Regions from separate parts of the Homo sapiens genome. Here region 1 is linked to region 2. The links are contacts of gene promoters, found by promoter capture Hi-C in blood cells and fetal thymus (Javierre and others, 2016). All regions are on one chromosome and are shown on one strand. Each heading gives the region's core, a stretch centred on a gene start or on the middle of the fragment in contact. The rest is flanking DNA. Distances are from core to core; before and after follow the strand shown. Region 1 has its middle 860 kb from the start of VRK2. Region 2 holds the start of CCDC85A (coiled-coil domain containing 85A).

Region 1 (4,905 bases), core at 1,859-4,358, 1.0 Mb before region 2:
TATCTTTTTACATTTAAGAGGTAGGCATTCAGCACTATAAACTTTCCTCTTGACACTCTTTTGTTGCATCCTAGAGAATTTGGTATGTTGTGTCTCTATTTACATTTATTTCAAATAGTTTTTTTTTACTTCTGCCTTAATTTTGTTGTTTACGCAAAAGTCATTCAGGAGCAAGTTGTTTAATTTCCACATATTGTATAGTTTTGAGAGTGCTTCTTGATATTGATTTCTATTTTTATTTCACTGTATTGTGAGATTATAATTGGTACGATTTTGAGTTTCTTGGTTCCATAAGTCAAGTCTGGTTCCTTATAGCAGGCTGCTTATATTTGAAAGCATGTCATTCCAGTCAAAGCCTGGGTAAAAATAACCAGTTTCTTCAATTGTGTCCTGTTGCAAAAGAAAACAGATTCTAATTGCACTTATGCAAATAACTATATTGCCATAAGTTAAGAATGCTCACAACTAGTTTTCAAATTTGGAGAAATCAGAGAGAAATATGCCTCAAATTTCATTTATAGGAGTATACTCAATTGTTAAAAGCTGTAAATAGCTTAAAATAAAAGTGTTCTTGACTTTGAAAAACAAAACAAAGAATCAGTAACATTTTAAACAAAAGTCATAAAAGGAATAATTTAGTCTTCTATTAGTTCAGTCCATGAGGTTTACTGCTGTTCTGCTTGATATACATGAACATTCCAGCTTTCCATGAGAGTTCTGAAAGGTTTTCCTCTATTCTAATGTCACAATCTCCAAAGCTATAAAAGACCTGAATTCAAGAGCACCTGTCAAAGTCCTACAGCTGATTATAACCACCTTTTGAAGAGGCTCAAAACAAGACAACAGTTGTCTGTGGGTGACAAAATTCTCAGGACAGCCATAGTTAAAGCCAAAATTCACTAGGAATCTTGGTTATTTCTGTGGTATACCATCAATTTTACACAATAATTATAATTACTACTAGCAACATATATAGAGACATATCACAATTACAGGAAACATATAATTTTGTAACACATACTAATATTTATATGAACATAATCCAGAGAAAGTTAAACACCATTTTATATCAGACAGTGTTTCCTATATGATTTTAATATATTAAATAAGCTGAATATGTCTTTTTTGCACTTTAGGGGACCTAAATTTTACCTTTTTTTTAATTTAGAATTTGATCTTGGAAGACTTGTCAAATATCAAAGGTTTGAAACACTGGATATCACAAAACAGAACTTCAGGTCACTATCAGTCATTCATTTAGCCAGAATGATTACTCGAATATTTTAAAAATGCAAAATCTCATACTCACTAAGAGAGGAGAGAATCAGCTTTCTAATAAAGACCCAATAAAGACAGCATGAGGTCAAGTGAATCTGTCTTCTCTCTCTCCCCACCCTGTCTTTTATTGTAGTTTACTCAAAAGGCTAATAAAAATGTTTAATTGTCTCTCGATATTACATAAAATTATTTTTCAAAAGAGAAAATCAAATTTCATGTTTGTGTTGGTGCATCTTTAATGTTAAAATTTTATTAAAAACTAGTTTTATCAATCTATCCAGTGTTAATTACCTTGACTGTAAGGTAATATTTTCCTACACTTTTTAGAACCCTTTACAATTTTCCATTAATCAGCAGATCAATTTTCTAAGGAAACCCTGTTATTTGAACACATGGGTCCAGATTCTGGCTAGATGTGGGAAGGTGTGCTGGAAAGTGGGCTGGTGTTTACAGAAAGGGTGAGTGCTGAGGGGATATGGTAGGACAATGAAAGCAGCTGTTACAACTTCTTCCAGAGAAAACATTCTTTTAAAAATGAGACATAAATTAAAGGCAGTTGTGTAAGGAATAATACCATGGTTGCTGAAGACTCATAGACCAGGATTGAAATCCAAACTCTGCCATATCCTGGGAGGCTAATCCTGATAAAAGTATTTAATTTCTCTCAGGTTGGGCTTCATTGTCTGCAAAATGAAACACATGGTATCCATCTCAAAATCTGTAAAGCTTAAATGAATTACCTAAGAAATGCTTAACACAGAATCTAGTATTCAATGTATAGTAAATATTAATGTAATTAAAAGGCAGTTTGGTATTTAAAAATTATATTACCCTTAATGCTTACCATCACTTACCAGAGTTATTTTAAGAATGCAGGGAATCTCATCCAGGTTATCCTTCTGTCACAACTGTTGAACTCGGATTTGAATCCTCTAGTTTCATAGCATGCACAGCCTTTTAAAAAGTCTGTTCACTCTGGTTGGGGGCAGCACTAATGGCTAGCTTATTCTTTTTTATGTTGGAACCTCCCTATAAGTTAAAATAGATAAATGCAGAGGTTCATAGATTCAGAGAGTCTCAGATACACCTCTAACATTTGTGGGACCTGTGTCAAGAGAAGAGATGGCAACATACCCTTTGTCTAAAAGTTAAAATCAAGCTAACATAACTAATACAAAAAATCTTCTATTTTTCTGTTCTGGATAAATACTGAATCATCTTGCTTGTATGTGGTATCCCAAGTATTCAAATACATAGAAGCAGAAAGTAGAATGGTGGTTGCCAAGGAATTGGGGAAGGGGTAATGGGGGGGATTTTCAAGGGTACACAGTTTCAGTTATGCAAGATAAGTTCTGGAGATCTACTGTACACTGTAGAGCATACAGTTAACAAAACTGTATCACACACTTAAATATTTTCTAAAAAGGGTTAATCTTAGGTTAAGTGCTCCTACCACAGAAAGAAAAATGTAATTATTATAATAATAACTAAAAATGGCAGGAAAAAACTTTTAGAAGTGATAAATAAGTCTATAGCATAAATTGTGGTGATGATTTCCTGGGTGTATACTTATCTTCAAACACATCAAGTTGTATACATTGTATATCTATCTATGTATATGTATATCTATCTACAGCCTTTTCTCTGTCAACTATACCTCATTAAAGTGGCTAAAAATATTCTGTGTAGTGGAAATATTGAAATGTATGTATTAAGCTACAATTTCCAGAGAAGGAAAGTTGGTAAAATATAAATTGTAAATAAATATAATTTTATTATGCATGTCTGATTATTTTCTGAGTCAGTGGCATTTGGATGACTAATACATTAAGACTGACATGAGTCACAAATTATGTTTATGCAATCTTAACTTACATTTTTATCAACATTAACAACTATGTTGTTATAATCAGAATAACACATTTTCTTCTGTTGAGAGTAATGCCAAATTAGACAACTTTTAAAAACAAATTATTTTGAAATAATTTGTTGGAATAATGATATATTGCCAGCATTTAAAGAACAAATGTTTTATTGTTTTTAAAAGTCAACTTTTTGAGGTATAATTTCCATATAATGATGTTCACCCTTCTTAAGTGTACAGTTGATGAATTTGACAAATGTTTATAGTCATGCAGTCACCAAAGCAATGCAGTTGTTAGATATTTTCATCATCCAGAAATTCCCTCATGCCTCTTTGTAGATAATCCCTGTCACCACTCTCAGCCTACAACAGCTCTGAGTTATTATAGCTCTAGTTATTTTACTTTTGTAGTTTCAATATAGAAAATTTTAGCCCACTGAGACAATAGCCATTACAATCGTCCATAAAATTCTTAAATTGGCAGTTAGATTAAGGTGTAAACCAAAGAATTGAAATAGTATTGTTCAAATTTTGTGATGAGGTGACAAATATTAAAGTGTCATCACAGAAAATATTACAAAATACTGTAATTTCATTTTATAAATTGCTATCTCAGATTGCAGTTTTCACCATCACTTAAAACAATATCTAGTTTCATAGATTATTGTTTCCATTCTTCTTTCAAATGTTTCAATGGTAACATAGTATTAAAAAAATGGAAATAGCATATGTTGCCAAATTTGTTTTCTTTATATACTTTGATCTATAATTGCCAGTGTTATTCCCTATAGAAATAAGTGTTGAGCTTATATGTTCATGAATCTTATCTTTCATAGTCATAGAAATTGTGTTGATTTTCTTGTTCTAATTATCTTATTTTTATTGGAATAATATTTGTATTCCCTTTTTTCCACATGTTGTATCTATCTTTTTTTCCACATGTTGTATCTATCTTTTTTTCCACATGTTGTATCTATTTAGGAAACAAATTTCTCTAAAATTTTAAAAATACTGTAATCATTTTAATAGTGAAATCATTCAGATCTGTTAGCATTTTTTTGCTAAGCTTTCACTGATATTAAAGGTAAATTAGTTTATACTCAATAATGTGGAAAATATAAATTCACTTTTAGTTTTTGTCTAAGACCACAATTCACCCTCCATTTGAAGATCACCTCTTGTTTTACCTTTTTTAAAACTGCATCTTATTGTATAAAATAAATCAAATTTTTTATTGTGATTATTATCTCTTAGATCCTAAACTGGAACAATAAGAGAAGCGTGGAGGAAACAAATGCATGGTGTGACTGGCAAAACATGCTTCATTACTCAAGAATGTATCGCTTCCTTGCTATTGGAAAGAAGGATTCACAAGTTAATTTTTTTTTTCTTCCTTCATCCAAGTGTTTCCAAAGCTGAAAAGCTCCTTATAGTTCAAAATAGTGCCCTAAAAAAAGTTAGTAGCACAATCCAAACCTTCAGAACTTCCAAAAACAGTTGTTCTTTGTTTTGAAGATATAGAGCAAGAGATGTGGTAAGGAACTTCCTAGAGGCCTGACTCAGTCAGAAGAACAGATGTGTGGTTTATGGGTTGAGCTGTACCGGTGTGTCTGAGTATTCTTTAATACATTTATTTTGTGTGTATTTGAGATATTCAGGGCCTCCAAATTACGTCACTCAGAGCAGGAAAGTCCCTTGAATGGACTGAAAGATGGGTACTGATTGATCTCACCTCTCATCTTTATGACAGTCCTTTAGCTTTG
Region 2 (4,787 bases), core at 1,643-4,142:
ATGAATCTAGATCACAAGGAGACTTTCTTACTTGGGTGTACGGGCCTTTAGCTGACCTAATAGCTACTTCTCTACATGAAGCTACTGGAATGAAGCCCAGGCACTCTACCAACCCACTCTACCATTCCCCTCCCCTACCCACACACAGACATCACACACAGTCAATCCACATAACCTAAAGGAACTTTCAAGTGTTTCTGAGCTATTATTTTGATGCTCCATACTATTAAAACATTTAATAATAACTCTTCCAACTCTTCTAAATCACACTATTGTTCAGACCATGGAAGAAACTCAAATTAGAGGATGACAAACTAATGCCCCCTTGTCCAGCTCTGCCTAAGAAACCAAAATCTTGGGGACACACAGCCATAGATTTGTAAGTCCTTTCCTGATGACAGTAACTACCATTTTATAGTCAAGTATTAAACCTTCCCCTACATAATCATAACTTATTGCCATAACACCCTCAGAAAGTTATTATCATTGCATTGTATTGGTGAATAAAAGGAGGATCTGAGAAAGTAATTACCCAAGCTCACCCTCCTGGCAAATGAGGTTTCTAGAATTCAAACCCACCTCTGAGATCATCTTCCTACTACACTAGCCTGCCTCTATTCCCCAAAGAGACTGGCACTTAATAAACACTCTGTTAGTAATGAATTCAACCACAGGAGAGAGTAAGCCTTGGCATTTTTCTGACTGGAGGAATCTTCCTACCTGCACCCACTCTAGGGACTATATGACAATGACTTTCGGCCTCGGGAGACGGCCATCTCCACCTGAACTGGGCCCAGCACATAGGTGAGCCTTGAGCATTCCACTCTTCCCACTCTTTCTTGCCCCAGAATCCCAGAGCTGGAGCACTGAGGCAATTCCGGAACAGCATCTACTGTCTGATATGTGGGGATAGGAGTGGAAAGGGGAAAAGAACAGCTTGTGCCTTCGGGAATTTGCTCCCTGAAGTCCCTGCAGTGATTTCGTTTGTGTCTGGCTTCCTACAAACAAAGCAGAACAATGAGAGGAAGGAATACCAGGAGGCACCAGCGCTAGCTGGAAGGAGAGGAAGTTTGTGGTGCTCGCCAGCAGGGCGGTTCCCGGCCACTAGTGTACTGCAGCTGGGCAGGCACACTCCTCGCAGACCCGGCGCTCTCCAAGGAGAAAAGAAAGTTAGTGGGCTTGGGGTACGTTTCCCTTCTTTTCCTAGAAGAGGGTGGCAGGGGGGCTGGCTCAGAAAGAAACCATCACTGACCAACACTTGGGGTACTCTGTCAAAATGCTGCTCCTTCCATACTGAGTCTCTTTGCTCCTCCTCTTTCCCCCAGTCAACCTGGGGTTAAGTGGGAAGGGGAGTAAGGCAACTCCAGGGGATGCCTTCCAAACTCCGGGAGAGGGAAAGCACAGGAATTGGGAGAAGACGTGAAGGCAGAGCTTGAACTCCTATGTACCCGGTGACACAAGACTGCTCTGAGGGTGGCGCCCGCTGCTTCTCCCGGGCGCCCCGCCAGCCGCTCTCCCTGGCAGTGGCGCCCTTTCCTCGCCCTCTGCCCGCCCAAGAGCTGCTGGCCCAGAGCAGCCGCATTCCCGACCCTCCAAGGCGAAGATCCCCTGGATTCACCCCCTCACTGGCCTTTCCGCCTAACTGACTGAAACCCGGCTCCCCAGGCACAGATTTTCCAGCCTCCCTAAGAAATGAAAGGTTCGCGTGCCCTTCACCTCCCTCCCTGCTTTCCAGCGTCCTCAGCGCCTCCCCGAACAGCCAGACAGTGGAGCGCCCCGTGTTGGGGAGAGGAGGGGAGCAGACGCCTCCGAAGTTTGGAAAAGTTACACAGGGGCTGGGGACTGGGGGTAGGGGGTGCCGACCGGGAGAAGGGGAGGGTCACCTGTTGAGGGAGGGAGGGAAAGTTTGCCTGGCCCCGCCTCCTCCTCGGGGCACCCCGCTCCCAGCCGCGCCGCGCCTCCCCACCTGGCCCGCGCTCACCTTGAGGCCGCGGATCTCGCCGAGGTGCAGCTGCAGGCGGCGGTTCACCTCGCGGATGAGGTTGCTGTGGTCCAGCATCGCGCTCACCTTCTCCGCCTCGGCGCGCCGCAGGCTGCGGATCAGCTCCTCCTTGCTCCACTGCAGCAGCTCCTCGTCCGACACTTTGGACAGGTCCTCCACCGGCGCGGGCGGGGCCGCGGACGAGCCGGCCGGGGCTGGGGAACAACTTTCCGCCGCCGCCGCAGCCGCCGCCGCGCCTCCGGCCGCCTTCGACATGGTATCCGCGGGGTGGCAGGTGCAAGTGGGTGGAAGAGGCGAGGCGACTCCCGAAGGCGCGGGCGCGGCGAGGCCGCCTCCGCCCACACCCCTGTGCGCTCCGGCGAGTCAGCGGCACCGCCCAGGGGCCGCTGGGTTGGGGCGGCGGGGGTCGCGCTGGGTGGCCATCCTACCTCGCCATCCCCGCGCGCGCGCCCGCGCTCCCCCAGGGCCCGGCAGCCAGCCGCTTGCTGCTGCCGAGGCCCGTCCCAACTCCGCGCAAGTCCATGGTGAGGGGCACTGGGGAGCCCGGGGCTGCCGCGGGAAATCCTCGGGGACAGCGGGGGAGCTGCACCGCCGTTCCCCTGCCCTCTCCTCCGCCCTAAGCCGAGACTGTCGCCCCCCGCACTCTCTGCCCTGCACACAGGCGTGCACGCACACGCACTTTCCTCCCCCTTGCCCAGCTGCAGCCCCCGGCTTCTCCCCTCTCCTAGCTTGGAGGGCGCGCCGGGCACCGCGGCGCCTCCCCGGCTGCTCTAGCGACGCCGCCGCGGCTGCCCGAAGGCTGCTGCGCTCCTCCTGCCGCCTTCGCTGCGCCCGCGGCCGCTCCTAGGCTGCTCCGGAAAGCCTTCGATTTGCAGAGCGGAGTCGAGAAGGGGTGGAGGGTGGGGGACCGGCTGGAGGAGGAGCCTGGAGCTGGGGCCACCCGTAACCCGCAGCAGCTCCCGCATGGGCTGGACGCAGCTGCCACTCGACCGCTGCCCGGGCCCTCGAGGTGCGCTCCCGGCTGTCCTGCCCGGGAGGGCTGGGGGCGCGGCTCTTTCTGCGCCCGGGCGGGTGGGGCTGGAATGGGGAGAAGGTGAGGAGCTGTGGCCGCCCGGTCTTTGGGAGGCTCGCGCGCGCCACCGTGTGGCGGAAGAAGCTCCCTCCTCTGCCCTCTGCACACCGGCCTTGTCACCAGGCAGGGGAAACAGCTGCTGACCCAAATGCGAGGTGCTTCGTATTTGGAGGGATCGGGGATCAGGAAAGATGGGGTAGCAGGACCTGAGGGATAACCAGTTATTTGCACTTTGGAGAATGGGAGGAGAGGCAAATGGCAAAAACGGGGGTTGGGGAAAGGGGCAGCTTAAGAAAATCCAAATGGTCTGAAAAGGGCGAAAAGAGGCGTCAGGGCACTGCTCTTATGGGGCTACCCATCCCCACCCCCCACTCTCGCCCCACCCCTAGGCCTTTGTGTTTTCTAAAAATCCACTACTCTATGAAGAAGCTTCGGGAGAAGGTACTGGATCTTTTAAATTTTTATTTGAAAAATATCAAAGCCTTTAGGCGAAAATAAAATACCTTCATCTCCTGCTTCCTGAAACCTGGATTTTAAGGTCAGCACAGTCACCTCCCCTCGGAGCAAAGCAAGCCCCCTCAGGCAAGCTGAAATGCCAGCCAAGGAGATTTCCATTTTCTTCTATGCCGCAGGCTGCCAGGCGTTTACTGGGTCGGCTTTTTTATGATGGTTATTTCTGGAAGGAGGAAGTCTGAGTCCCTGGCTTCTATCTTTGGGCTATCCTCTTGTAAAGTTGGGTGGAATCGTCTCTGGGCTGAAAACATGCTTTTGCCTAAAGAGGTGGATGCCCTTGACCACCGCATGTTATTTCCAGTGGGGTACAGGGCCGGAAAATGGCAAGGATCTACCCCCACCGGGTTTCAGTTAACCCGGGTGCAGAGGGAATAATCTCTATCTGGTAGGATGATAATCAAAATCAGTCCCTTCACCCGCCGGTCAGTGCGTGTCCCCTATTGGGGACACTGAGACCTGGCTCCCGGGAGAGGCAAGGAAATGTGGTACTGCTTACGGTGACCAAATGGCCTTAACATTCCCCTCAGCTTAACTAAACTTTAGACAGGTTTCTTCCTAACTGTAGGCCCCAGACCTTCCTTTTCTCAGAGCATTTACTTTAGCCAACTTCCATTGGTGAATGTTTCCTCTGACCCTTTGACATGTAAATCTCTCCGCCTCTTGCTGGGTTTTACAGCCTGGGGATCTTTCTCAGGGATCTGTGAGGCATCCCTTTGAAATGTAATCATCAAGGAAAAAAGGGTCCCTATCTCCTAGTGTTTGTGGAGAGGAGGAGCCTAACTTTAATAAGTTCCAATTAGGAAACACAAATGGCCTCATTACACTGACCAACTTCCCATCCTAATCTCCTCCACTAGTCTTCTACTAGTTCCCCTCTCCCTCCCTCTCTCTCTTCCCTATTGCAATAGCCTTGAATAATTCCCCCTTGTCTGTTTAACTATATCGGATGCAATTTTTCTTTGACACCTCCAAGCCGCTCTCACGCCCACAGAAGGCTCTGCTCAACACAGTTCCTAAGACCAGTTTTGTCACAGAAAGGGAAAGTGAAGGTCAGAAAAAGATAAGTCCTATCTCTGTTACTTGTTAGTTCTTGTCCTTGAACAAACCATCCGACCTTACTGGCCCTCGGGCAGCTAATGATATGGTATACAAGAAGCGCTTGATCGAGCCACCCTACAGAAATGCAACCTTACTATTACT

Evidence for each region. Contacts are between HindIII fragments. The CHiCAGO score rates a contact against its expected background, and 5 or more counts as called.
Region 1: a contact is called between a fragment that was not itself captured here and the fragment with the promoter of CCDC85A in region 2, in 1 of 17 cell types (endothelial precursors). The highest score is 5.2, in endothelial precursors.

What each region holds. Positions count from the first base shown.
Region 1 is chr2:57,180,044-57,184,948 of GRCh38, reverse strand. No RefSeq gene overlaps it. Among named protein-coding and RNA genes, the nearest start is that of VRK2, 860 kb to the left of the region's middle. The HindIII fragment of the contact is 2,204 bases long and covers 2,007-4,210 here.
Region 2 is chr2:56,182,095-56,186,881 of GRCh38, reverse strand. It overlaps CCDC85A (coiled-coil domain containing 85A), which reads right to left and starts at 2,892. Exons shown (of 6, transcript NM_001080433.2): 1 at 1,982-2,892. The coding sequence starts at 2,257. LOC100129434 (a long non-coding RNA gene) reads left to right here and starts at 1,112. Exons shown (of 3, transcript NR_125368.1): 1 at 1,112-1,184. RefSeq lists a silencer at 2,893-3,222. The HindIII fragment of the contact is 6,654 bases long and covers 1-3,505 here.